6 separate regions of the Homo sapiens genome follow, and all the other regions are linked to region 1. Evidence: promoter capture Hi-C in human tissues and cell types (Jung and others, 2019). All regions are on one chromosome and are shown on one strand. Each heading gives the region's core, a stretch centred on a gene start or on the middle of the fragment in contact. The rest is flanking DNA. Distances are from core to core; before and after follow the strand shown. Region 1 holds the start of CDH20 (cadherin 20). Region 2 has its middle 140 kb from the start of CDH20. Region 3 overlaps CDH20 (cadherin 20). Region 4 overlaps CDH20 (cadherin 20). Region 5 has its middle 230 kb from the start of CDH20. Region 6 overlaps CDH20 (cadherin 20).

The links. The method cuts DNA at HindIII sites, captures the fragments that hold promoters and counts their contacts. A contact is called where the count stands out against the background at its distance.
Region 2: a fragment that was not itself captured here is called in contact with the fragment with the promoter of CDH20 in region 1 in 7 of the 25 tissues and cell types used here (H1 embryonic stem cells, adrenal gland, aorta and 4 more).
Region 3: a contact is called between a fragment that was not itself captured here and the fragment with the promoter of CDH20 in region 1, in 5 of the 25 tissues and cell types used here (hippocampus, liver, lymphoblastoid cells and 2 more).
Region 4: a contact is called between a fragment that was not itself captured here and the fragment with the promoter of CDH20 in region 1, in 5 of the 25 tissues and cell types used here (bladder, dorsolateral prefrontal cortex, hippocampus and 2 more).
Region 5: a fragment that was not itself captured here is called in contact with the fragment with the promoter of CDH20 in region 1 in 5 of the 25 tissues and cell types used here (H1 embryonic stem cells, aorta, mesenchymal stem cells and 2 more).
Region 6: a fragment that was not itself captured here is called in contact with the fragment with the promoter of CDH20 in region 1 in 4 of the 25 tissues and cell types used here (dorsolateral prefrontal cortex, hippocampus, mesendoderm cells and 1 more).

What each region holds. Positions count from the first base shown.
Region 1 is chr18:61,331,744-61,336,467 of GRCh38, forward strand. CDH20 (cadherin 20) reads left to right here and starts at 1,687. Exons shown (of 12, transcript NM_031891.4): 1 at 1,687-2,084. The HindIII fragment of the contact is 19,388 bases long and covers 1-4,724 here.
Region 2 is chr18:61,190,245-61,195,339 of GRCh38, forward strand. No RefSeq gene overlaps it. Among named protein-coding and RNA genes, the nearest start is that of CDH20, 140 kb to the right of the region's middle. The HindIII fragment of the contact is 5,069 bases long and covers 1-3,806 here.
Region 3 is chr18:61,530,716-61,535,716 of GRCh38, forward strand. The region is part of intron 7 of CDH20 (cadherin 20); the gene reads left to right. Among named protein-coding and RNA genes, the nearest start is that of CDH20, 200 kb to the left of the region's middle. The HindIII fragment of the contact is 5,872 bases long and covers 357-5,001 here.
Region 4 is chr18:61,485,024-61,489,633 of GRCh38, forward strand. All of the region lies in intron 1 of CDH20 (cadherin 20), which reads left to right. Among named protein-coding and RNA genes, the nearest start is that of CDH20, 150 kb to the left of the region's middle. The HindIII fragment of the contact is 7,068 bases long and covers 1-4,610 here.
Region 5 is chr18:61,105,857-61,110,460 of GRCh38, forward strand. No RefSeq gene overlaps it. Among named protein-coding and RNA genes, the nearest start is that of CDH20, 230 kb to the right of the region's middle. The HindIII fragment of the contact is 5,995 bases long and covers 1-4,604 here.
Region 6 is chr18:61,464,282-61,469,279 of GRCh38, forward strand. The region is part of intron 1 of CDH20 (cadherin 20); the gene reads left to right. Among named protein-coding and RNA genes, the nearest start is that of CDH20, 130 kb to the left of the region's middle. The HindIII fragment of the contact is 5,102 bases long and covers 1-4,111 here.

The DNA of each region.
Region 1 (4,724 bases), core at 437-2,936:
TCCTTCACCTGCTCAACATGAAGCCAACAAGGATGAAGACCTTTATGATGATCCACTTCCACTTAATGAATAGTAAATACATTTCATTTTCCTTATTATTTCCTTAGTATCATTTTCTTTCCTCCAGACTATTGTTAAGAATACAGCATATAAAATGTATAGCATATAAAATATGTGTTAGTCGACTGCTTATGTTATCCATAAAGTTTCCAGACAACAGTAGGCTATTAGTAGTTAAGTTTTTGGAGTGAAAAGTTATATGCGGATTTTTGACTACACGAGGGTCAGTGCTCCTAACCCCCATGTTGTTCAAGGGTCAACTGCCCTTACTTTATTGAGCCACATCTGCATCATCTATTAAAATAGAGAAATAATAGTCTAGACTGAATAGAGTTGTTGGAAAAATGAAATGAAATAACATGTGTAACACATGTCTGTCACATAACAAGTTCTCCATAAACATTAGCTATTCTGCTATTAATAATCATTGTTATAACTATGAGTTCTAATTCTAGGCCTGCTGAAAGCTATTAAAATATGGCATGACTGCCTTAACTGGGATACTATTTCTATTGTCACACACTTGGGAATCTTATTGGATGTTTATATATATCATTTTATCAGTTCTTTACACACATTGATCATTTGGCCACAGAGCAGTTGTACAAATAGATTATTTAGTAACCTATCAATTCAATCAAAATAACTTGCTCTATTACAATCAGTGATGGGGGAGGAAATCCTCCAAGCACCTTGCTTGAAGAGAAATGTAGAAACCACATCGGGCAAAAAGTCCCCCTCCAGCCACTGTGAAACCCAAGTTGTCGTCAGTAACTTGACATTCTAGGGTAGGAATCAGGACAGGAGAGAGGTGATCTCTCCTTTTGACCTTGTGTATTCTGACCTCAGAAATAAGAGCTGGAATTGCCTTCTGGAATGGGCCTGTCACAGTATTGTGTGATTTGGGGGACCCCCTTCATCTGGGAGAGAAGGGTGGTCTCAGCTTCCACCTCAGAAATTTCTGACCCTTAATATACCTCCACCCCATCTCTAGTTAAAGGCTTAAAACTCTAAGATTTTCCTATGAGGACAAAAAGAAAAGGAAATCTGAGCATTTGAAGAAATTCTTAAAAGTCGATGAGTGAGGTTTCCCTCACACATGCCATCTTCCCCTACCTCTCCTCTTGAAAACAATGTCTTTTGCACCCTCAAGGTCAAGGTTAAACCCGAGTTGGTACTCATTTCCTTTCTGATTTTATTTGCCTTATCCTGTTCTACTCCTCAATTGCCTCTTCCAGAATCTGTGCAAAATAATTACCTCAACTTCAGGGGAAAGTTTAGATGTAAATACCCCCGCCCCCCTCCCCACGTCCACACATCCCCTTTCTTCTCTCTCCCTCTTAACATTTCCTTACGCTCTCAGCCAATAGAGGAGTTGAAACATTTAAATGCGGTATCTAAACTGCATTTAAAGAATTAACCCATTTTGCCCCTCACTGGTCTAAACCACAGGGTGCCAACCGGACGTTAATTGCTTTCATCTGGTGGGGTTCCAGACAGCTCCTCAGAAGGAAGGAGCGCACATTCCTGGCACCAATTGGCTAATTCAATTTACTTCAGCGGCATTAGCCTCTGTCAGAATATTCATGAGCAGGGGAATGAGGACCCGCGGTACAGGCAGGCAGCAGCCACTCCTGCTAGGGAAGGCGCGAGGGAGGGGAAGCGGACCGCGCGCCACGCTCGGGGGACGGTGACCGCGACCAGGGGGCTCTTCTCACTGGACAGGCCGAACGCGGTGGCCGCGGGAGGGCAGGGCAGGGCATCGGCGGGGTTGGTGCACTTGGCAGTACCCCCCAACTCCTGGCAACCGCACGGAGACTTTGCGAAACATCCGAAGGCAGAAAAGCTGTGACACTTCTGACAGAGGGGGTAGGGGGGTGGGGGGCGGGGACAGCGCCGCGAGCAGGGGTGAAGAGACCCAGCGGGGCACCAGCCGCCCAGTGGGGGAGGCAGCTACGTGAGCAGAACGCCCGCCCTGGAGCAGTTAGGACCGAAGGTCTCCGGAGAGTCGCCGGCGGTGCCAGGTAACGCAGAGGGCTCGGGTCGGGCCCCGCTTCTGGGGCTTGGGACTCCGGGCGCGCGGAGCCAGCCCTCTGGGGCGAAATCCCCGGGCGGCGTGCGCGGTCCCTCTCCGCGCTGTGCTCTCCCAGCAACTCCCTGCCACCTCGACGAGCCTACCGGCCGCTCCGAGTTCGACTTCCTCGGACTTAGTGGGAGAAGGGGTTGGAAATGGGCTGCCGGGACTGGGGGAGCTGCTCTCTGGAAGCAGGGAAGCTGGGGCGCACCGGGGCAGGTGGAGGACGTGGCGCGCTGGGAGCGGGGACTGCGCGCGCCTGGGGATGGTGACTGGGGATCCAGGAGCGCGGCTTGTGGGGGCGCTTGGCACGGCTTCACCCTCGCTGGCCCCGCAGGCGGTGGCGCCTCCCTCCGCCTGCAGAGGGGACAGGGTGGCCGCGTCCCTCGCACAGAGATGTGCGCCGGGAAGGGGACCAGAGAGCCAGGCTCCGGGGAGGCGCAGGCACCTACGGGGCCGATCCCTGGTCCGTGCCTCGCGCCGCGCCCCCGCCGGAGCTCGGCTGTGGGAGGAGAATGTGGTGGGTACTCGAGTCCCCGCCACCTGCCGGACTTCGCCAACTCCCCGGATTTCCTGTCCTCGGGCCCTGACACTCCCAAGGAAAGCTCTGAATTGCGCTCGCTGTTTGGTTTTTGCTTGTTGTAGTTACTCTGGGGGAAGAGCCGGGGGCAAGGGGGTCAAATGGGGCTAAAGTTTCAGATTTGCAAAGAGAACGTTACCGAGGACTCTCAACGTGTCCTTAGCAATCGGAGAGACTGCAGCAGCCTTTGCCTAGCTATCCGCCTCTGGGGCAGCAGTGGGGGCTGAAATCTGGAAGGCAGCCCGGAGGCAGCGTCAGAGCCTTGTTTTGTTTTGTTTGTTTCTGCCGAGACCAGGCTGGAAGTGAGAGGGGATAGTACCAGACAATCGGGGAGTTGGTCGCCTGGTAGATTCAGAGTTTACTATGTTGTTGCTATTATTATTAATGCTCTTGTTATTGGCACGAGCACCAGGAACAATTTTTTTTCTGATTGTTATAAATCGCCTGCAAATTGAACCTGCAGCCGCCTCCCCTCAAATGAAATGTCCCCGGACCTCCTCCAGTCTCTGATGTGTGTCTTTCCACCAAAGGAAATTACCCACTCAGAGCTGTGGTGCTGTCAGGGACTCAGCTAAGGAATTGGATCTACCTAAGAACAACAAAAAGTTGAAACTAGGATGAGTTTGAACCCACGCTTATAGATGAGTATTATGTTCCTATCTGCTCACCTTCCTCAGCCGCCTCTGGCTGGGGAACCCTGAAGGCATAGCCATCTTGAGAGTTGACCCAGCGTTTCCCTTTCATTTATTTATATAACCTGGGAAAATCTTTTCCCTTTAGTGTCACCCTTGCAGTCTCGTTGGACATGCTGAAAGGATTCAGGTCCTGACACTGGAGGAATCCGTAAGGGCACCTGTGGTTGCCAACTCTTGGCTTGACCCTGTTCAGATGTTGCCCAGGGTGCAGGCTTGGGCAGCTGATGCAGCAGAAAGCTGGGCGAGGGTGTGGGAGAACAGTATGGCAGAGTTAAGCTGAGTGCAGGAGATGAGGTCAAGCCTCCACGCTGGCCACATCCCTTCCTGCCAGAGAAAAAAGAGACAAATGAAGAGCAGGAGGGAAGTGTTATAAATTGGAACCGAGCTCTTAGAGTCTACTTAGGCTGTGAACCAAGCTCTCAGCATCTACTGAGGCTCTGGCCATTGACTTTGGCGTGACCTTTCTTTTCAGTGCTTCTGATTTTCGCTCTCTGCAGATACTCAAGTAACTGTGCCTTTCTAACAGGACAGTTGTCGTGAGATGATCTAATTTTGTATCCAAAAAAATACTTTGAGCATCCTGGGAAAGGACAGTCTATAAAATATGCCATTTTAATGTTTTGTGAAAAGTTTGCTACACTGCAGGTTAAGGAGATACATTTTTAGCATGTGTGCCATGTGGCAGTATAAAATTAAAATGGAAAAGGAAAGTACAAACATAAAAATGACTTAGCATTCTTGACATTCTTGTGCATACTTGTAGAAAAATTATCTTTCGTTTGGGGAGAGTTGCCGGGAAATTTAATCAGTGTTTATACTACTGAAACGCCCCCTTCTACCTTTCTGCCCTGTAAAATTTTATGACCCAGTTCTCACCGGAAAGGCGTTGTGACTGTAGTAAGTGCTGAGGGTTGAGAGGAGAGATTGAGAGTTGTTAGGGGAACTGTTACACAGGGTTCAGAGACTGGAATCGGAAGGAAGACGCCACTATCCTGAAAGAGCAGAGCAATGTTCGTCTGGAGAAAGCAGTTGAGCAGCATAGGATAACAGATCTAGCATTGCTTGTCCTCTGCTCTCAGATTCAGGAAGAGGACTCCCTGAGATAGCCCAGAGGGCTAACCAAGGTATTTTTCCCTCCTCCATTGGGTAAAAGCACTGCCTCCTTCTAGACTTTGGATTGGTATTAACTTCTCTCTTCCTGTCAGTCATAGCGCAGTAGTCTTCTCTTACCATCTCCAAGAGACTCAGATGTACCCTCTACCCTCTCAGACCCTTATACATTTGTAAATATCCCCCAAGTTCTGAAGCTTCTCAA
Region 2 (5,095 bases), core at 22-2,521, 140 kb before region 1:
TCCTTTTTAAAAATTTAACCTAAGCACCACCCAGCAGCCTCTGCTTCCATCTCCCTGGTCAGAACTGGGTCAACTAACTGCTCAGGGCTGGAGGAAAATGAGGAGTTAACTGTGTTTAGCTTTCTTGTCATTAGCAGAGGAAGGCACGAAGTAAAGGGTTTATGAATAGCTTTAGCCAAACTGCAAACTTCAATCAACCACTTAGAGCTCAGATATTCACTGACGAAGCACAAGTATCTCTCTCTGTCACACACACACACACACACACACACACAGACACAAACACACAGCTTTTCTATTTGTAACGATCATCAGAATTCAGTGACCAAGATTTACTAGTCGAGTATAAAAAGTCAGTTACCACTGGCTGATAAATGATAAATATAAAGTGAGTCTATGAGAAACAGGCAACATGACAGAGGCAGAAAATTCCAATTACCTCACATACAAGAAATGAAAACTTTGAAATAATGTACTTGCATTCCTTGCATCTAGAGGCTGACTATGCCTAATATCTCTGATACCTGTGGTATGGAAAAGAAAATTCCCAAACTGTGGGGTTCAATGATGCCAGTAATCTTCCAAAAAGTAAACTTGGGAACCACTATAGGGTTGCCACCTGTTGATTTTGCCAAGATAGGACATACTACCTTCTATCACCATAATCACATAAAGAAAAGGCCAATTTGACTGACACTGCGTTGTTCTTATTTTTTCCTATTTCTCACAGTACTGGAAAGAAATGTGTAAATGACTGGCCTAGGATCTAATTGCTTTAAGTTTCTCTCCCACATTCTGCCTTCTTTCTTATACACACCAAACTGGTGCCCACTAGTTTTTTGAAGGCCAGAGGTTCACTACATTGTAGGCTCTTTTAAAAGACAAGCATTCCAAGGGTTTCAAGAAAGAAAAATAATATTTTAAGGCACTTTATATCATAGAGATTTTATTTTTTATTATTAGAGCCTTCCTTTGTCAACCAGGCTGAAGTGCAATGGTGCGATCATAGCTCACAGCAGCCTCATACTCCTGGGCTCAAGCGATCCTCCTGCCCCAGCCTCCCAAGTAGCTGAAACTACAAATATGAGCCACCACCCTCTGCTATTTTTTTTTTTTTTTGTAGGTATGGGGTTTCATTGTGTTGCATAGGCTGGTTTCAAACTCCTGGCCTCATGCAATCCTCCTGTCTTAGCCTCCCAAAGTGCTGAGATTACAAGTGTGAGCCACTGAGCCCAGCCTCAAAGAGATTTTTAAGCTTTTGGCCTCACTCTCAGTTCTACCTCTGATCCATCATCAGCCATCTATCTAAAAAGTAAAGTAGAGGGACTAAGCCACAGTCCCCATAGTGTTGGTCTGGAAATAGATACTATATTATTCAAATTAGTACTGCTGTAGGGCAATGTCTCATCAAAATTGTTCTGCAGTGTTTGATGGATCCATTGAGGTTCCTGAAAGATTTCTGTGCCAAATAGAGTAAAGTTAACACTTAATAGCAGGTCTGCCCCTCTGGTACCTCCACCTTCAACCACATCAGGATGGCTTTGTCTCTTTTATCAGTTAATATTCCTCATAAGATTTTGTTTGTAAAGATGGTTTTACTGTTGTAAAATAACAACAATAATAATTCTGAAAAACAATCATATAAAGTTCCTCAATCAGTCACTATTTTCTCCTGATGTGAATTGAATACAACTCTGTGTATCATTTTACGCTTAAATGAAATTTTGTTTTTTATTTTGGATTCAGAGGGTTCATGTGCAAGGTTGTTACATGGATATACTTAATGATGCTGGTGTTTGGGGTATGGATGGTCCTGTCACTGAGGTGTTGAGCATAGTACCCTATAGGTAGTTTTTCAGCCCATGCCCCCCTCCTCCCCCCCCAACTAGAGTGGTCCCCAGTGTCTATTGTTTGCAGCTTTATGTCTGTGTGCATTCAATGTTTAGCTCCCACTTATGAGTAAGAACAAATTTATGGCTAAGTCCCCAAAAGCAATTGCAAGAAAAACAAAAATTGATGAGCGGTACCTAATTAAATTAAAAAGCTTTTGCAAAGCAAAAGAAATTCAACAGGGTAAACAGATAACTAAGAGTCGGGGAAAAATTCGCAAACTATGCATCTGACACAGGTCTAACATCCAGAATCTACGAGGAACTTAAACAAATCAACAAGCAAAAAACAAATAATCCAAATAAAAAATGGACAAAGGACATGAACAGTCACTTCTCAAAAGAAGATGTACAAATGGACAACAAACATGAAAAATTGTTCAACGTCAGTAATCACCATAGAAATGCACATTAGAATCACAATTAGACAACATCTCACACTAGTCAGAATGGCTATTATTAAAAAGGCAGACGCTGATGAGGCTGTGGAGAAAAGACAATGCTTACACACTGTTGGTGAGAATGCAAATCAGTTTAGCCACTGTGGAAAGCAATTTGGAGATTTCTCAGAGAATTTAGAACAGAGCTTCCATTTGACCCAGCAATCCTATTACTGAGTATATACCCAAGTGAAAATAAATAATTCAACCAAAAAGACACATGCACTCATATGTTCATTGCAGCACTATTCACAATAGCAAATACATGAAATCAAACTAAGCATTCATTAATGGTGGATTGGATAAAGAAAATGTGATACATACCTGCCATAGAATACTATGCAGCCTTAAAAAAGGAAGAAAATTATGTCCTTTGCAGCAATGTGGATGCAGCTAGAGGCCAATATCCTAAGCATATTAATGCAAGAGCAGAAAATTAAATGAATTTTTAAACATAGAATTATAAAGCCACATTTTGAAAATCTTACACATTAAAAACAAATTTTTTACAATAAAAATGAGAGTATTTGTCACATAAATGTAGAAATTTCTAATAAAGACAAAAAACACTCAGAATTTGTTTTCTCACAAGAAAATATTTTATATCTTAAAGCAAGGAAAAATTAAGGCTCTATACACAGAAGAAATAAGTTCTATTGTTCAATAGCACAGCAGGGCAATTATAGTTAACAACAATGTATTTTACAATTCAAGGTGGCTAGAAGAGATTTGAAATGTTCCCAACACAAAGAAATGCTAAATGCTTGAGGTCATGGATATCCTAATTATCCTGACTTGATCATTATACATTCTACGCATGTATCAAAATATCACATATACCCCATCAATATGTATAAATACTATGTATCAATTAAATATCTTATACATTTTTGGGGTAAAATAAAAATCTGTCTCTGAGTAGACAGAGCTAATGTAACAACAATTTAGCTACATGGTTGAAAATTTGCCCAATGTATGGTGAAAACGTAGGAGCATAAGGCCAATGGGAAGAGACAAAGACATAAAATTGTTGGTGACACCCTCCGGCATCACACCTATATGTCCTTCAGCTACTGGCCACGCCTACTCTTCCACATTGCTTCCATTCTCTTCAAGGGCCATGACTACTCAACGTCTTAACTTGCTTGTTTAGTCATCCTTATCATTCATCTCCCTGTAACCCAAATTTGAATCTCCTTGTGTGTTTCCTCCTGAATGGTATCCTGGTGCCCACACTAGACACATGAAAACCTCAATTTCTCAAATTCTCTCACTCACTGGTTTATGCTTTGATCAAAGTTATTTCCTGAGCACTTATGTTAGATGGGAGACACACAGATAAAAGAGAATCTAATCTGTAACTTCTAGAGCTTCACAATCAATTTTATAACACAATTGAGACAAGGTACTACCAGAGCACAAAGGGAAAATTTCTTACCTCTATCAAAAAGGCTATGTGGGGCCAGGTGTAGATTACAGCTCATGCCTGTAATCCCAGCACTTTGGGAGGCCAAGGCAGGTGGATCACCGTATGTCAGAAGTTCAAGACCAGCCTGGCAAACAGGGTGAAAACATGCCTCTACAAAAATACAAAAAATTATCCAGGCATGATGGTGGATGCCTGTAATCCCAGCTACTGTGGAGGCTGAGGCAGAAGAATCGCTTGAAACCGGGAGGTGGAGGTTGCAGTGAGCCGAGATCATGCCATTGCACTCTAGACTAGGCAACAGAGTCAGACTCCATCTCAATTAAAAAAAAAAAAAAGCTACGTGGAAGAGAAGACATTTATGTTCATTCTAGAATGAAGAGTTCAACCCATAGACCAGGGGACACCTGCCATTATTGACAGAGGGGAGTATGTGGGAAGTGCATGGAACCATAAAACAGCATGAGACATTGAGGAAAACCACAAGTATATCTGCTTGAGTTTCACAAGAGTCGTAGCCGTGAAGAAGTGGCAGAGGAGGTGGTGAAGGAGAGCAGGAAAGGTCTTGGGTACCATGGTAGGGAATATGCATGCAATCTTATAGGGATTGAAGAGTTTTTAATAATTTTTCTTTAGTAATAAAGTAATTGATAAGGTGTGCTTTATAAAAATCAGTCTGGCTGTGGTCTGGAGAGTTGGCTATAGAGACCAGGGCTGGGAAAACAATTAGAGGGTTACTAAAGTAATCCAGGAGAGAAATAATGAGGGCCTAAATCAAGGCAGTGGGAATGTAAAACCATTCTGAATTGCAAGAGGGAAAGTTATTAGGTGGCTTATCATAATTTATATGCAACTGGTGCACCCAATCCTCCCCTTCGAACACTTCACCACTGAGCACTGCAGGAGAGAACAGTCATCATTGAGCAGAGATTTAAGAATAGAAATTGATCTGACGACCTACATTCCTCTAAAATTGCAACACAGAACGTCTACATCTTCCCACCACCAAATCTGCAAACTCCCTAACTCTGCAGACTCTAACTGACTTTTCTCGGGTATTAATGGAGAAAATGCCTCAGCTGCTGCAAAAGCAAATCCCTCAACCCATGCTCTGGATCCAACCCTCTCTGAGCAGACCATGGACTTCTATGGCAATTTCTTTCACAACTGCATCCTCTGTCTTTTCCGATCTACTGGACCATTCTGTTTAGTCTATGAGTGTGCTGTAAAATCTCCTTTAAAAAAATATTTTTCCAGCAGATAGAGCATGGGGTTAAAAATAAAATAAACATAAATATTTTACTCTAGATCCCCCACCAAGTATGTCAATGCTCTACTCT
Region 3 (5,001 bases), core at 2,043-4,542, 200 kb after region 1:
TTTTTAATACATGCTCAAGGACTTTTTGGCAGGCAGGATACTGAGCCATTTGGCAACTGAAAGAGGCTTCTGCTGATGTGGAAACTGCCTGCCCCCCAGTTCCTTCCCAGAATGTGTGTGGATTTAACCAGCCTGCTCCTGACACCCCACCTCCAAATTGCTCCCAAATTCAGAGGATGTCCTCAGCTAAGTGACAAGCAGGGAGTCCGGAAAGCACCAGCTACTGCTGGCTCTGGGCAGCTTTGTACCTGCATGATGCCGATTCTGCTCATAGGAGGTTAGAATGTAATGGTTAAGAAAAGAAAACCACCTACATAATTCACGAGTGTGTCCCAATTTCCTCGTTTTCCATCTGTATCTACACCTTTAATTTTTCTCCTGCCTCCTGAAAATTAACCCAGCATCCTATTCAGGGAAACAAAGGCTATTATTCCCTCAATTCTGGCCCCATTGGGGAAATCAGAGAGGGATTCCCCTCGATGAGGGAGGCTTCTCTGAGGAAGGCTCCTGGTGTGTCAGCCCGGCAATGCTGTCAGGGGTCCTGTGGGTTAGTTATTTCTATCACTCCCTCTCCCATGCGACATTCACTATATTGCCGTAGGTCTGAGTATAGAAAGCTGCTTTCTCATAGGCTGCCTCTCCCCTTGGCATCATGCCTGCAGCCTGGAGAGCTGCCATCAGGGACATGGCTCCGTGGACCACATGGCTGGCTCTCTGCATGTGTCAGGAGCTGAAAGAGAAGACTGTCATGAGCCAATCGGTGTTTTTTTATTTTATATTAGAGAAAATTCAATTCTGAAAATAGTAAACTTTAAAAGTAAATAACAATTTATGCTTAAAAAGTAATAATCTAGTCCATTTTAAATGAACTCTGAAGCATGTGTTTTTCTTTATTAAAAAGGCAACTATTCGCTGTCACTCTGATGTGATCTGGCTCTGTGTCCCCACCCAAATCTCACCTTGAATTGTAATAATCTCCATGTGTCAAGGGCGGGACCAGGTAGAGATAACTGAATCATGGGGGTGGTTTCCCCCATGCTGTTCTCATGATAGTGAGTGAGTTCTCACGAGATCTGATGGTTTTAAAAGGGGCTTCCCCCTTCCCTTGGCACTTATTCTCTCTCCTACCACCATGTGAAGGACATGTTTGCGTCCCTTTCCACTACGATTGTAAGTGTGCTGAGGCCTTCCCAGCCATGCTGAACTGTGAGTCAAACAAACCTCTTTCCCTATAAATACCCTGTCTTGGGTATGTCTTTATTAGCAGTGTGAGAACGGACTAATACTCGTATCTTTAAAAGATAAAGTCTTGTTTCCTTAGACAATCTCTTATAGACTATGTGTCAATAAGGCAGCATGGCCTGGTGGCTGGGAGCAGAACCTGCAGCCAGACTGCCTGGGCTTGATTCCCAGCAATGTGACCTTGGGCAAGGGACCTAACCTGTCTACTCCTCAGACTTCTTACCTGTAAAATAAGGATCATAATTGTGCCTACCTCATGGTGTTATTGTAAAGATTAAATGAGTCCATATAGGTGATGTGTGCTGAGCAGTGCCTGGCTTACAGTGAATGTTCATTAAATAGGGTCACAGGCAGAGAGAAACATTAATTTTCTTCCTTAAATTTCCTAACTCTTAGGGAGTCATAACTTAAATGATTCTGATTTCTCTAGCTCTTACTCATCAGCTTTCTCTTTAATTCCTAATTCCTAAATAGCCATCCTGAATCTCTGCAGAAAAAAAATATACATTGTATTTGATACAATACATTTTACCAACGATATATATGCACAACTGTATACATGTGTGTATTGTATGTATATATATATATATATATATATACACACACACACACATATATATAAAAAACAAAAGCTTTACATCAATATTTACCCTTACTGCATGTGATAGTTTGGCATGCATATATTCTATTCTATTTCATTTTCTTTCTATGCTAATCATAACCCACCAAATTGATTTCACAATCCACTAAGCTACATCTGAAAAACAATGCACTATAGTAAAGAAAATGTTTATTCCCTCCAAAATTGCTGCTTCTCCGTCTCTACAACGTTAAGATATGGATTACAGTTGCTGGCAACTTTAAATCAAATTTTGAACCCAATATATTTCCCAGTCCCTATTTAAATAATTTTTAAGAACATAGTAGTTATAATTTTGTATATATAGCTTCAAATCAAACACAGTAGTTATAACTCCATAAAGATGGCTTCAAGTCTTACCTCTTAAATTATTACCTGTGTAATTGCATAAAAGTGACTTCAGCTAGTTGCAGTGGCTTATGCCTGTAATCCCCACTACTTGGGAGATTGAGGCAGGAAAATCACTTGAGGGTAGGAGTTTGAGGAGTTTGAGGCCAGCCTGGGCAACACAGGCTGTTTAAAAGACTTTGTCTTTTAAAATAAAAAATAAAAAAAATTTAATTATCCAGGTGGGGTGGTACCTGCCTCTAGTTCCAACTACTCAGGAGGCTGAGGCGGAAGGATCACTGGAGCCGAGGAGTTTGAGGCTGCAGTGAGTTTGGTCATGCCACTGCACCACTCCAGCCTGGATGACAGAAAGAGAACCCATTTCTAAAGAAAGAAAAAAAAGTGACTTATTTAAGCCTCAGTTTCCTTATCTGTTGATTGGGATAATAACTACCTCCCAGAGATGTTGGAAAAATTTTAAAAGAAGCTGTGTATTAAGTACATAGTAAAGTGCCTGATATTCAGCAAATGGCAGCTATTGTAATTACTGGTCTTTTAAAAACAGGATTGTTTTCTTGTTATTGAGTTATTTATATATTTTGGATATTAGCCCCTTATTTTATGAAAAGAATATTTTCTCCCAATCTGTGGGTTGTCTCTTCACTCTGTTGTTTCCTTTGTTGTGCAGAAGTTTTTAGTTTGATACAATCCCATTCATCTATTTTTGCTTTTGCATGTGCTTTTGGGGTCATATCCAAGAAATCATTGCCCAGACCAACATTGTGGAGCTTTTCCCCTAAGGTTTCTTCTAGTAGTTTGATGGTTTCAGGTCTTAACATTTAAGTCTTTAATCCATTTTAAGTTGATTCTTGTATAAGGGGTCAGATAAGGGTCCATTTCCATTCTTCTGCATGTGGGTATCTAGTTTTCTCAACACTATATTGGAGAGACTGTCCTTTCCCCATTATGTGTTCTTGGAATCTTTGTCAAAAATCAGTTAATTCACTGTAGACCCATGAGTTTTTTTCTCAGCTCTCTATCCTATTTAGTTGGTTGATGTGTCTGTTTTAATTCCAGCTGTTATAATTACTATAGCTTTGTAATATTATTTCAAAATTAGGACAAATGACCCTGTTAAAAAAAATGTGCAAAATGCCTAAACAGACATTTCTCAAAAGAAGACATACAAATGACCAACATACATGAAAAAATGCTCAACATCCCTAATCATCAGGAAAATGCTAATTAAAACCACAATGAGATATCACCTCACAACGTTAGAACGTCTGTTGTCAAAAACATGAAACGTAAGTGTTGGCTGGGGTGTGTAGAAAAAGGGAACCCTTGCACACCGTTGATGAGAATGTTAGTACAGCCATTGTAGAAAACAGTATGGAGGTTCCTCAAAAAACTAAAAAGAGAATTACCATATGATCCAACAATCCCATTTCTGGGTATATATCCAAAGGAACTGGAATTAATATGTCAAAGAATGTCTCTACTTTCATATTCACTGCAGCATTATTCACAATAGCCAAGATACAGAAACAACCTTAGTGCCCATCAACAGATGAATGGGTAAAAATAATGTGGCATACATACACAATGGAATATTCGTTTCAGCCTTAAATATTCAATACAGCTTTAGAAAAGAAAGAAATTCTGTCATTTGCAACATGGATGAATCTAGACGACATTATGCTAAATTAGCCAAGCACAGAAAGACAAATACCACATGATCTCAGTTATATGTAGAATGTAAGAAAGTCAAACTCATAGAAGTAGAGAGTACAATAGTGATTGCCAGAGGCTGGTGGGTAAAAAGGAAAAAGAATCAAAAAGTTCAAAGCTTCAGTAAGGGGTAGTAAGTTCCTGTGATCTATTGCACAGCATGGTAACTGTAGTTCATAATAATGTATTGTATATTTCAAAATAGCTAAAAGAATAGATTTTAAATGGTATCATTGCAAAAAACAAATACATATGTGAGGTAATAGACATGTTAATTAGCCTGATTTGATCATTCTATGATGTATACATATATCTAAATACCACATTGTACGCCATAAATATATATAATTATTACTTGTCAATTAAAAAAATAAAAATGGCTGGACACGGTGGCTCACACCTGTAATCCCGGCACTTTGGGAGGCTGAGGCAGGTGGATCACTTGAGGTCAGGAGTTTGAGACCCGACTGGCCAACGTGGCAAAACCTTGTCTCTACTAAAAATATAAAAATCAGCCAGGGATGGTGGCAGGCACCTGTAATCCCAGTTACTTGGGAGGCTGCGGCAGGAGAATCACTTGAACCCAGGAGGCAGAGGCTACAGTGAGCTGACATCATGCCACTGCACTCCAGCCTGGGCAAGACAGCAAGACTCCACCTCAGAAAAAAAAAAGAATTAAAAAATAAAAATGATAAAAATTACTTGGCCTTTACCAAGGACTACATAAGGTTCTCATTGATGGTTCTCAATCATGGCTACATATCAAAATCCCTTATGGAGGGTTTTTAACATCCACATGCCTGAGCCTCCATCCATATTTATTGAGTCTTCCAAGATGGGGACCAGACGAGATAACACAGGTGAGATAACACAACAGAATTGGATTGCCAAATCAGGTTCAACAGGAAATATAGATCCTACCCAGGAGCTAGTTAACTAATGGCTCAAATGATACAGACAACAGCAAAACATGAGTCATTCTCCCCTTGGAGAGCTCTGAAACTGTCAGGCACAGGTGCCTATAAATGTCCTTTTCTTGCATAAAGATGCATGTTGGTCCA
Region 4 (4,610 bases), core at 124-2,623, 150 kb after region 1:
CTGAACTTTTAGCCTCAGGAGTGCCACCATTTTTGAGGAACTTGATGGAGAAGGAATTCATAGAAAGATAAATAATGAGAATTAGAATAAGCAAGAGTGGTGACCACCTTTTCCAAGAAATCTCCAAGGAAATTAAGCATTCCTTTTCTTCTTCTGTTCAATTTCTTAAAAAGGTAATACTGTAATTCTTCGATTCTCCATACACCATCAATGTATTAACAGCTTCTCTGAGGAGTGAGGAAAGCCTACTATGAGAACATTAAATATGTAAACATTGATTTTTAAGATATATCTCATTTCAGAAATGTTAAGTTGGGAGGAGGGGTGTGGTGAAGCAGGTGAGAGTTAGGTAGGGGAGTGGAAGTGAGAGTACAACTCAAAATTCAGCAAATCTAGTGCCTGGACTACCTCTTCTGACCCTGTTGGGAGTTGGTTGCCTCCACAGATGGGTGGCTTTGGGTAGGCTGGTGAGTTGATGACCACAAAAGAGCCATGGAGCTTCCACTCACCTAATGACTGTCCCAGAAGAAACTGGGATGGATAGAACCTCTGTAGTAAATGAAAATTAAGCTATCACTTTTACTTATAGAAAGAGCCTCAAAAATGCACTTAGAAGAGAGCCTTTATGGAGATCTTAGATATTACAAGAAAACATGACAGTATATCATAAGGTGCATCAACATTAAATCAGAATACAGCTCAATGTCATAGTGCTATTCCACCTCCCAGTCAAGGTTCTCTCTCGAGAAATAGAAAAAAACCCATTTTGGCCAGGTGCGGTGGCTCACGCCTGTAATCCCAGCACTTTGGGAGGCCGAGGTGGGCGGATCACGAGGTCAGGAGATCGAGACCATCCTGGCTAACATGGTGAAACCCGGTCTCTACTAAAAATACAAAAAATTAGCCGGGTGTGGTGGCGGGCACCTGCAGTCCCAGCTACTCGGGAGGCTGAGGCAGGAGAATGGCGTGAACCCGGGAGGCGGAGCTTGTAGTGAGCTGAGACTGCGCCACTGCAGTCCAGCCTGGGCGACAGAGCGAGACTCCATCTCAAAAAAAAAATAAAATAAATAAACAAACCCATTTTACTTAGGAGTTAAAATCCTTCTGTATAGAGTACAGAAGAAATAAGAACTTAGTAAATGAAAACAACTTCTGGTCAGAGAACTGTGTCCCCTTTCAGCATATAAAACCATACTATCCACCCTGTCCAAGACAGATCCCTAGTGATGGACTTTGGTCAGTAGCAGAAACATACACAAACAAATCCAGAAATGTTGAAAGTTTATTTAGAGGAGCACTCGAACTATTTTCTTTATGGGATTCTACAATGGGAATATTATTGTTTGTGAACCATACATACTGAAATACACGAACAACTTTTTACTCCAATTTATACTGGTGACCACCTGTGTCATTCTCTGGGGTTTTGTACTCTATACAAAAGGATTTTAACTCCTAAGTAAAATGGGTTTGTTGCTATTTCTCAAGAGAGAAACTTGATTGGGAGGTGGAATAGCATTATGACATTAAGTTGCATTCTGATTTAATGTTGATGCACCTTATGGTACACTGTCATGTTTCATTGTACTATCTAAGATCTCCATAAAGTCTCTCTTTTAAGTGCATTTTTGAGACTCTTTCTATAAGCAAAAATGATAGCTTAAGAAGTTTGGCTCTTAAAACCATGACACCACTGTCTGCATTTACCTCTCTTAAAGGCATTAGGCCACATCAGAACCTTAAAACACCCCATCTTCTTAAACAAAGTCACGGAGTCGACTGACTGCTTCTATAGAGATGTCATTTGAGCTTTGCTAAGCAGTAGTTCCATTAACCATGAAAAGCTCAGGAAAACTGGAATAATGAGGAAAGAAATCAGAGCAAGACCATAAAAGCCCAGTTCATTTCAAGGAGAAAGCAGTAACCATCCCTCCCCACTACATTTTAAATATCACAACGAATTTACGTAACAAACTAAACAATTCACTGAAAGCACACTTTATGTACAACTTTAATTTCTTCCTACTGTGTTCATTACCAAGCTGTTTTCTTTCTTTAGGGAGGATGAAGGGGAAACTTTTAAAAGACTCATTTAACACAGAAGTCAATTTCCACTAATGTATTCTTCATGTGGCATATGTAGTCTTCCAAAGCAGATCTATATATACAAATACACATGTATCAGTATCTTCTTTTATAAGAACAACAGCAATTAGCCCACCCCAAACACATTATTGCTATTCATATCCTCTAGGGAAAAACATGAATATGAGAACCACCTCATTTATAATAAATGCAAACTGATTAGTATTTCTGATAGAACTGTTTTGTAAAAAACACCTCTAATTGTGAAAAGAATAATGCGACTATTGTATAACCCAGCTTTTACCTTCTAGAAAGTTAGGCAGGGAGTCTTTTTCATGCATTCATCCCTAAGGAAGTAGAAATAAAGTGCTTTGCACCAACTGTTGCTATCAAGTTATATAAGACAGAAAGAGTTGGTACGACATTGCGGTCTTTGTGATTTGGGGTGTGTAAAGGTACCATCAGCTTTCACAGAATCACCAAGGGCTCCCCCGGTCAAGATCCCAAAGTCACCTTTGTACGTGTTCAGTGGAGGGGAGGAAAATAAGAATTTGCACTAGTGTGTAGGAGGCCAAAGTAGAAAAGAGGGAGAGATGAAAACAGGCAACCTGACCGCCTACAAAATATTCATCACAGATTTCAAAGAAGGCTTTTCTCCTTGAGCTCTTCAGATCATGCCTCAGGTAGGGGGATAGGGGGTTTTAATTGGGAGGAACACATGCCTAGTTAGAAATGGGGAATATAAAAAACACTACTTACAATTCCTCAAATCTCATTCTGTACATAAAATGTAGCCAGTGGAAGCAGAAGAGGAGACATCTGCACATAGCACACATGCATGCACAGGCACTCTTAGATTCAAAGCAAGTTGCTACAACCAGCCAGAGAAAATAACAGACATGTGTGCTTAGGCAAAATATAGGTAAGAAACAAAGACATTAAGGGGAATACACTAAATAGAATACGTACATACATATATATATATATGTACGTATATATGTATGTATAGTGAGTTCTAGCTTTAATCAACGCAATCCGCAAAATAATTTTCTTTACTATTGAAGAGTTTTCTAATAGCTAGCCCTTGATTAAATCTCCTCAAATGGAACGCAAGTGTTTGGTTATTACAGAATTAGACTGAGCCAGAATCTGCTACCAGACGGGACTTATCACAGATGTAGAGATCTGAAAAATAACAGATATATATTATAAGCCCTTTCAGAATTCTGGCCCCAAAGGTATCCATAAAATATATATTTCTGGCTTAGCTCCATGATTTTTACATATGACCCAGGTACTTTATCTGACTGTTCAAATGTCGGTTGGCACCTTAGTCATTTACAGGGCACTTTTTTGCCTGCATGATCCCATCAGACTCTTGTGATGGTCCAGTGAGGTAGGTGGGAGAATTATTGGCCCTGCTTAATAGATGAGGAAACTGAAATTCATACAACTAAATAAGTCAGAGGTAATGAAGATAGAACCAGTAACCAAACTGTCTCTTAGTCTAATGCACTTTGAGGAATTATAGATACATTGTGTCTTACAATATACAGAATATTGCTTTTATGGTTTACTAATCACAGCATTCTGGCAGTGGCTTTTTTTTTGTTTGTTTGTTTGTTTGTTTTGGCAATGCCCTTTAGTCTGCCTTCTAGGCCCCTAAAACAGCACAGCTATTTCTCACTAATCTTTGTCATCAATTCGTTTCCTGGGTTAAATTCCTTCTTCCCAAACACCTCCCTGTAGACAGGGATCAGAGAAACATGAACTGGGCTTCTCTGTTCCCTAAGGGAAGATGTCCACCAGTCCAAAGAGAGAGAGAACAGCTAATATTTGGTAACCCACCTGCTAGCAGCACCATTGTTCTTTATTAGCAAACCCATTGCCCTCAATGAGGTGCACCTGGCTTGCTTTTTCTTAACACTCAATCTGCCTTCAGAGCTGGAGCTCATAAGAGGCACAGCCTCCCATTCTGCTACAAAAATTCTATAGTCTCCTCAGCTACTTTCTCTATCATTTCTCATTAAAATGATTTATTATACAGAAATGAAATGGCATATTGTATTAAATAATTATAAAGTAGTTTAAAATTTCTTTTGTACATTTCAATCATGAGTATTTGAGAGGAAGCTGAAACCAGTTCTGATGACAGGTGGAAGGTAGTAACTAAGTTAGCATCAATGCATTCACTTCAAACCACTTGAAGAAATGAAGTGTTATTTAGTTTCACAGAGCTGCAATCTCCAAATACACACATTTGTTCTCAGATGACAGCAGTTCTTCGAATTAACAGTGAAAATATTAAGCCGAAGGAAGACATTTTGGTTGTCTTGACAGGTTGACTTGAGTGTTATGCCATCTCATTAAACCAAGCCAAGTAAGGGAAGAAAAGATTGATGAGGCCATAGCCCAGAAGTGAGGTCACCAGCTAAATGTGACCACATAGCAACAAAAGAAGTTTGACTGATAAAGATGTGTCCCCACGGTAGAAGTCCTTTTCCCTAAATGAGTCCTTCAGGTCA
Region 5 (4,604 bases), core at 1,506-4,005, 220 kb before region 1:
GCCCATTTCAGCTTTCAACATGCCTTCTTCACAAAGCTTAATTATTTCCAGCTTTCGATTTAAAATGAGAGACATGTGACTCTTCTTTTCACTTGAACACCTAGAGGCCAGTGTAGGGTTATTAACTGGCCTAATTTCAACATTGTTGTGTCTCAGGGAATTGTGAGGCTTGAGAAGAGAGAGACAGGAACAGCTGGTCAATGGAGTAATCAGAACATAAACAACATTTATTGATGAAGCTTGCCAACTTCTATGGGCACAGTTCATGGCCCTCTGAACAATTACATTAGTAACCTCAAAGATCACTGATCACAGATCACCATAACAGATATAGTAAGAATAAAAACAAATTTAAATATTATGAGAATTACCAAAATGTGATACAGAGACACAAAGTGAGTACATGCTATTGGAAAATGTTGCCAATAGACTTGCTTCATGCAGGATTGCTGCAAACCTTCAACTTGTAAAACGTGCAATATCTGTGAAGTGAAATAAAATGAGGTGTGCCTATATTTTAAACAGAAAACATAACAAAACATAACAGAAATAAAATATGAATATCATCTTGACCAATATGAGGGAGCTTACCTCACAGATAAATATTAAAAATCTTTCTCTTTATCACAAAGCTAAAGACAAGTCTATGCTTATTACAGGAAACATGTATAAAACCAAACTATTTAGAAAGTTTAAAAATGCAAATATGGGCAAAAGTAGACCAGAACATACAACCAAAAAGGAAGCAGAGACTGCAAAGTTAGTATCAGACAAAGCGGTATTCAGGGTTCAAAAGCATTAACAGCGACAAATAAGGACACTTCAAAATGCTAAGGGAGGCAAATAATAATGAAAGCATAAAACTTTTATTATCAGACACCAAATACCAGTAGCAAATTTCATCAAAGAGCAATTACAGTTGATACTGTGAGAATTAGAAATACCTTTTTAAAAGAACACTTTACTTCTCTAATCAAGACAGATCAAGAAGACAGAAATATATATATATAAAATATTTAAACTACATGTTATAATCAACCAGATGATTTTTATGTAGCAAACTTTATGCTTTCAAGTTATAGAAAACACTTCTTTTCAAGTGTACATACAAAAGAAGAAAATTGACAATATACTAAGCCAGAAAGGAAAAGGAAACCACAAACAAACAAAAACTAACAAATATATATATTTTAAAAAGCAAACCTTTTAAAAAGTCTCAAGTCAGGAGAAAATACCAACTGAAGTTACAGAAACAACTGCAATAAAAGCAATATATATCAGAACTTACGAAATATAACTAAAGCAAGTCCTACAGGAAACATTTTTAAAGAAGAAATGAAAATAAATGCAGTAAGCATCTGGCTCAGAGTCAGAAAATAGAAACATAATACAAACACACCAAAAAACAAAAGGCAAATGAAGAAATTAGGGTACATTCATAAATTGATGACATAGCATAAATGAATGAATGAATGAATGGTGTTTTTGAAAATGATCCATAGATTTGTCACTACCTAATTTATTCAAGAGAAAAAATAAAAGAGCAAGAGAAAGTAATCATAAGAACAGAAATGTTTAAAATTATAAGACTACTTCAGATGACTCTAGGCAACTTAATGTAAAGGCCTATATAAATTGAATAGTTTTCTAGGAGAATATGATTCAGTGAAACTTAGTGTGTTATACTTTCTTTAGCACAGAAGAAATTAAGAGCTAACACTAACAAAGCACCAAGCTAGGAGATCTCACTGGGTAGTTTCAATAGAAATTAGACAGTAAATAATTCCAGTGCTCCATAACTGGGTTCAGGACTCAGAAAGAAAGAAAACATCCCAATTGTTTTTTAAAATGAATATAATATTGATAATAAAAGCCAACAAATATTTCATTTAAAAAGACAACTATAGATTAACCTCACTTACGAATATTAACATTAAAAAAATCCTGAGTATATCAAGCCAAAGTCAACATCAACTTAACAGGTAACAACTCACTGGAGTTTATTCTAAAAATATGTGAATAAACTTGGTATCAGGCAGTTATAGTCAATTATATTAATAGATCAGAGAAACTTTCCTGAGGGGGAAATTCTCATGATCATCTCCCTCTAGATACAAAAAAAAAAGACATTTGACAAAATTTGGCAGATTATTTATTAACAGGATAAATACACATATCACTTTTTCATCACAACTATTTAACATTCTACTGGAGATATTTACCAATGCTTTTAACAAGAAAATTAATTTTACTCAAGAATTTTTCTTATTCCCCAACCCTTCCAATACACAATCAATCCTATCATCTTTGTAGAAAGATGAAATCCCACACAGTGAGTAAAAGTAGTAAGATAGATAATAAAGTACAAAATTAATTTAAAGAACAAAATAAGATATAATTAAAAAGGAAGATAAAATAGAAGATCTCATTACAATAAAAATTTTAACTCCAGTAAATATACTTAACAAGGAAGATTCAAGACAATATTTTTGAAAATAGCTCAAATTCTCATGATGGATACGGAAGTGAAATTAAACAACTAGAAGTAAAATTACTATTTATTTAAGACTCAATATCTTACATAAGTCAATTTAAGTTCAGTGTGAACCCAGTGAAAATACCAAAAGGTTTTTGTCCATCTGCAACTACATAATTCAATTCAAAGTTTACATGCACCACCTAAAAAGCAAGAATAGCCAGAAAATCTTTAAAAAAATAAGAGATATAAGAGTCACTGGCATTGCTAGATATTAAAATACAAATTTTGATAGTAAAAACTATGTTACTGTTACATGAATAGACTGACCAATGGAAAAGAATGAAAAGTTGAGAAATAAACCCAAATATATTTATATAACAATTATCAAATTAGTACATAAGGATATATATATTTAAAAATTATGTTGACAAAACTGGGTGGCCATCTGGAAACATACACACTTGAAACCACACTTCATACCACAATAAACCAAGATCAAAGATTTCAGTGTTAGTGTAATATTATTAAAGTATTAGAAAAAAATGTCTATTAGAAAAAAAAGTTGAGTCATCATTTCATGATCTTGAAGAAAGAAGACCACCCTGTTGTTTACAATGTAGAGCTATGAAAGAAAAGATAGAAAATTTTAGATATATAGAAATCAAAAAGTTCTGTGGTTAAAAAAAAAATTTAAGGAGTAAATTAAAAAGCAAATGTCAAACATTGAAAGATGATTAGCAAGCTGGGAAAATATATTTGCAACTCCTATCAGATATGAGATTAGAACTTTTAATAACTACAAACCTCATAAAAAATTAACAAGAAAAAAATCCAGAAATTTAATATAAAAAGTGTTCAAGGATATGAATACAGCTCATCCTCCAAACAGAAGTTAAAATGGCCTGTAAACATATGAAAGGATACTCAACCTCACTCATAGTAATAGAAATGTAAATCATAACTAATAGTAGATCTTATTTTTTCATCTTTCAAATTGGCAGAACTGCAAATTGAACAAGCAAATATTAGCAAATCTAGATTTCTTCATAAACTGCTCATAATAACACAAAATTATATCAGACTTATGTAGAAAATTTTGGCAATATTTATCAAAATTAAATATCTGGAAATATAAAAACAGCAATTTTATATTAGGTTGTTATATATATTACCAACATTCCATCATTTTTATCCAAAACTGGTAATATTTTAACCTTATAAGAGCAAAAGACTGGAAACAATGTAAATGTTTACGTATAGGGCATTTGTTATAATATATCCTTTCAATAGAATACAGTTGTAATTAAGAATCAGAAAGCTATTTAGTATATATATATATTTAGTATATATTTTTTTCATAAAAAGCAAAGAAAACATGGCACAATTTTAAACATTTGAGTGTAGAGAAGGTATAATTCATTTTATGTTGGTATGAGACAAAAATGGAGAAAGAAGAAAGAATAATTCCTCCAACTGCAAAATATGAAGATATTTCTAAAATTTCATGTAACAAAAAATAGTTTTTAGTCTCTTATTTTAAGTTACAAAAGTAACTAAGAGAAAGACTAAAAATTGTATAAATCTGAAACATTGATGAGGGGTAAAGAAAGCAATAGTACAATGGATCTGCATCTGAACTTTTCATTTTAGAGTTGCTTAGATATTATCTAGTGTTTCTAAGTCTTAAAAAAGAGGAGAATAAGACTGATTTCAACCATGGGAATAAGCACCAAAAGAATGTGCCCCTGAACAAAGAGTGCTGAGGAAAGCAGAGTTAGCACTTCCATGTTACTTGATTCACCGGCTATTTTGATAAAAATGTTTTTAACAAAAGTTAATGAGTACAGGCAAAGATTAAAAGATTATAAGATTCAGAAGGCAGGAGCTATATGTGATTTTGTTTACCACAGTTTCTATCATCCAATGTCTGCTATGTAGTAGATCTTAGTAAATAAGATATAAAGAGCTCTTAGAAGTCTCTAAGGAGTGGTCTCACCTAGAAAAGTTGGTAAAGCACATAAATAGTTCAGAAAATAATTACAGGTAGCCAATAAACATATTTAATGTCCAACCTCACTAGTAATGCAAGTTAAACCCACAGTGAGCTATCCCTTTCCCCAAATGA
Region 6 (4,998 bases), core at 311-2,810, 130 kb after region 1:
AGGGAAAAAGAGTTTGGTGGTTTAGCAAGGTGTTAAAAAAAAAAAAGTTAACATATTGCACAATTCTTATTATTTTTCCTGTCCAAACCTAGTCTCACCCCTTCCCACTGATTTCTCCACCAACCCACTGTCCTCTCGGCCCATCACACAACACTCCCTCCCTTTGTCTCCATTAAAAAAATTGGTAGATAAGCTAAAAAACTTCACATGTCACTGCTAGCAAAGACCAGGCTATGTCCAGGAATATCCCCTCCCATCTGTTTTCTGGATGCTTTGATTCACTGCACTGGTCAACTTAGAGTATGGGAACCCCAGCAGGGTAGAGCTTGCTGCAGGAGCTGACAGTTCCCTGCCAAAACTATCCTCACTACAGAATCACTGATCAAAACACTGGCTAGAAGTGAATGTGGGCTGTGACTCAAAGCCACAGGGGACTGAAAGCAACCACACCCATTTATCAATATCTAGGACTAGGAGGAAACATTAGCATCACAGTGAATAATAGCCAGACCTCTCAGACTTGAAAGCAGACATTAATGAACCAAGCCCAGAGCTGACGTTGAAGTCAAGGTTGTGGCAAAACCAGTTAGAATCCTCCATCATGGTCTAGATGTGAATGATTAGTACTAAAATAAAATGTAGGAAGCCACTGGACATATTTAGAAAATCCTCAACAGGGTCTGTCAATGTTTAACAATAATCTTGACTCATAACTTCAGGAAATGACACTATCCACAAATGGAATCAATCATTTCAAAATAAGCCTTGTAATATCAAACAACTTCAGCTCCCAAGTAAACCCTCAGGAGTATTTTAAACATGCTCTTCACAGAGCTCACTAGAAATAAACCAGTTGGCCTGGCTGCCCAAGAATATGCCCTAGATATTGTTTTCAATTGAAATTGAAAATAGGGTCACTGTCTGCAGGAACTGGAACACCTTACTTTCTACACATATACCCCTACAGCTGCTAAAAAGAAAACCAAAAAAAAGCAAAGAACAGCACCAAATCTATTAACTCTAGTCATTCTCCAGCCCCCTAGCCTCTCTCAATCATAACTTTGGATCTGATAGTTACAATTGTCATTTTTTACAAAGAATGGCATGTTGGCTCATCTTCTAACTGCATGGACCTTTTGCTAGTAGCACACATACTTCCCATTGTACTAAATAAAATAAAATAGAAGTAGCAATAAGAATCTCAGAGTTTTTAGAGTTACCAGATTTGCAAAACTGAATTGACACTTTGATCTCCAAAACATTTTTAAATTTTGATAGCTTGGAAATAAATTAACTCTCAGAAAGAATTACATGGGGAAAAAAAAAAAAAGAACTACGTGGGTTGGAATTTTGTTTTCAAATCAAGTGAATTGTAATGGTCCATTTTGAAAATTAACATTGAAATGAAGCAAGAAGGTCAACAGCATAGAGGATCAAAGCATCCAGAAAACACAGGGAAAGGAATATTTATGCATTTCTAATTCTATTTCTAATTCTACAGAGAAACTTAGTGACCCACCAAGATATGGAATCTGCTCTGGGAAGGAGGTATACTAGTCACATAAACAATATAAGGCTCCGACCTGGGCAACCTGGAGGAACCATGTCTCTAAAAAAAAAATTTACAAATTAGCCAGGCATGGTGATATAGGCCCGTAGTCTCAGCTACTCAAGAGGCTGAGGTGGGAGGATGACTTGAGCCCAGGTGGTTGAGGCTGCAGTGAGCCATGATTGTGCCACTGCACTCCAGCCTAGGCAATAAGGCAAGACCTTGTCACTTAAATATATATATTTTCTCATTAAGCTATATATATATATATATAGCTATTTATATATATAGCTTAATGAAGACATATTTCTCAAGAGAAGCAAATAGCTTCTTTTTACTGTGTGAATAGTAACATTACTTTTTTTGAAATAAATGGTAATTTACAAAAGGTAAATAATTCCAATAGTGATTCTCTATTCACCGTTTTACAAACAATTCCTGTTAGTATAGTTGTACTTACAACATTTACAATAGAAACTTACTATTTTACAAACATTTACAATAACTTACAACATTTACAATAGAAACTTACTATTTTACTTAAATGCTATATCATACTGCATTTCTTTAAAAATGAGTATTCAAAAATCCTTTCATGACATGATGTTCTAGTCACGCAGAGTTACGGGACATGCAGCTCATGATGTCACCACCATTTCTTCAAGGGCCGTCTTGTTACGACTTTACCTTCCACAGTTCACCTAATTAATAAAGGTGTTCGAAACAATCTAGGGGACAGAGAAGAGGATTAAGTCCATGGAAATCTCTCAATGGTTTTTCCTTGGATCCACAACTTGAGGCCAGCTTCCCATGAGGTATCTATCTAGGGACTAACCTAGTAAAGTTTTGGGAACTCCTCCTAGTAAAGTTTAGGTCTGAGGGAAACAACATTCCCTCAAGATGGCTTTAAGGCAAAGAAAGAAATTAGCGCACAACTACAGAGGTAACTCAGAATCCACACACAGGAGTTTGGGCTCAGCCTCCAGAGGGACTGAAACAAGGAGCAAGAGCCTGCCCTCTTCCCATGCCCTCCCCGCCTCCCTCTTCTCTGTCCCACTTCCTCTGCTCTGCTTCTGCAGGGCACAGCGCCCCAGCCATCCTTGCAGGTTCCCTTCCATACTCCCAGCAAACAATGTGCTTGGCCTGGCTTGGCTCAGTGTCCATCCTGTTCCAGTTTCAGCCTGGGGGATGGGCAAGTTCTTTGTTACAAACAAGGCTGCAGGGGCCAGTCCTTTAAGGATGGAAGGTCAGTTCTAAGACAGAAATATGCTAGACAGACACTCCTAAAGGTGTCTGGTACCATCTCTAATGACAGTATATATATATATAATGATCAGCTGCCACTGGGGAGACATATTGCCATGATATCCCCTCAGATTTTCTCATTAGAATCATGTGCAAATTGTAGTATTGGAAAATCAGTTTCCTATTCTCTCTGTATTTGGAGAGGCTTGTGAGGCCTAATTTGCCTTCTTCTCCGCTTGAGAATCTGACAATTTCCACATCATCACAATGAAGAAACATATTTATGGTGTTTGGGGTTTTTTTCCCCAAAAGTCAGGTATAGAGTGTCTTTTTGACAAGCCAGTTACAATTTTATGTCTCATTACTAACAAGCTTCCATTTCTCACTATCCATCAAATACAGAGTTTGCAACTTCAATCACTTTGAGGAACCACCACTCCTGGCCAATAACTACCATGAAATCCCAAGTTAGAAAAATTCACTCCCTCCCTCCAAAAATAATGAAGGAAAAGATCCAAACAATTATGAGGAAAGATGAACATGATAGTTTATGCCATAGGGATATTTTCTTCTCTACTTTTGGAAAGACAAACTTTTACTGAGCATCTCTTATGTTCTACACACGGGGCCTTCCTGTGGCACACAAGAGGATTTCATGCTTATAGCAACCCTGCAATTCTATGCATTGGAAACCGTCTGGGCCTCAGAAATATTAAATCATTTGCCAAAAAACACAGAAGTAGAATCTAAAGCTGATTCTGCCTGACCCCAAGGCTTACGTTCGCTTACTAGTACTAATAACTAGTATCTATTGAGCATTTGCTGTGTGCGAAGGCTCTGCCCCATTACCTCACATATAGTGACTTATGTAGTAGACATAGGAACTACTATTAGCTTCGTTTTACAGGTGTGGACTCGGATGCACAAAGAGGTTAAGTACTTGCCCAAGTTTACACATCCTGTACACAGTGGAGCAGAGGTTAGAACCCAGGCAATGCAGCCATACTTCCCATCAAGTTGTCTCCCCTGGAGAATGTGATTCTGTACATATCACGGGTCCCTTTGTGATTACTCTCAAGTTAATAGGCCTCAACTGTATCTGCAAGAGCAGCCGTGATCCAATCACCAGCGTCAAAATGAAATTAAGTCAAAATTGCATGGTTTGCCTTTCACTGCATGTGTGGAGAACAGAAATGACAATCTTGATAGCCAAGATTCTCAAATCCTTATTTCTCCCTAAAACAAGTATTTTTCTTTATGGCCCCAAAAGATTCAAGACATCAAGATACGCTAAGGATGTTCTGAGTGAAGGAAATCCCTTTTCATTTCTGTCTGTAGGGATGTGTAGGTGTGTGAGTGTGTGTGTTTGGGGAGGGGAAGGACATACTGCTAAAGAATAATGGTAAATCTTTTCTAAGAATATTCTTTTTCTTATCTCTCCTAAGCATATTTAATGCTGAGAGACTTTTAATGCACTGTGTTTCTCTAGTATCCCTTTTTCCCCCCTACTTGCTCCACTAAGTGTCTTCCAATTTCAAGTCACTACAGTGCAACTGGCTTAGATAATGTACTGTCATCCATACCTCATATATCGTGTCCAGGGAACTCGCCTTACTGTAAGCATCGCTTCCATTGCAGCAAGCTGGCTATGGGCCATGACCTGTGGGGGCCCCAGTGCCCATTTATTGTAAACTATGGATTGTGGGTGATGCTAATGAAGTTCCTCAAAAAGCCACATTTGTATGACTTTACATTTTGCTGTGTTTCCTTAAAAATTGCCAGTAAAAGACTGGCAAAGGTGTTCTTTATTATGAATTTGTTTCCCCATTTCTTGATCTCTCCTGTATAGGGGAAACTAGTTCCATTCATCCCACAAATCTCAACAAATCCCTTCATAACCACTAAAAATCAAACCCCTCCCCTCAAAAATCCTAAAACACAAATGTGGTCATTACCTCCACATTTGGAGCTTTATATGCAAATTGTTTATGACATTCACAAAGCTAGGAAGGAACTGCAATAGCACTGTGATTCTGGAAAGATGAAGCCAACTTCAGAATTCAATTTTCAAAAGGAAATGCTATGTTTGTTTCATGTCAGCCTCTGCTTCAGATCAGAACAACAACAACAAATGAATAAAGCTAAAACCATTGCTCTGGCTGGTTATTTCCAAGCAAAGCAGAGGCAGATGGAAAGCCACTCAG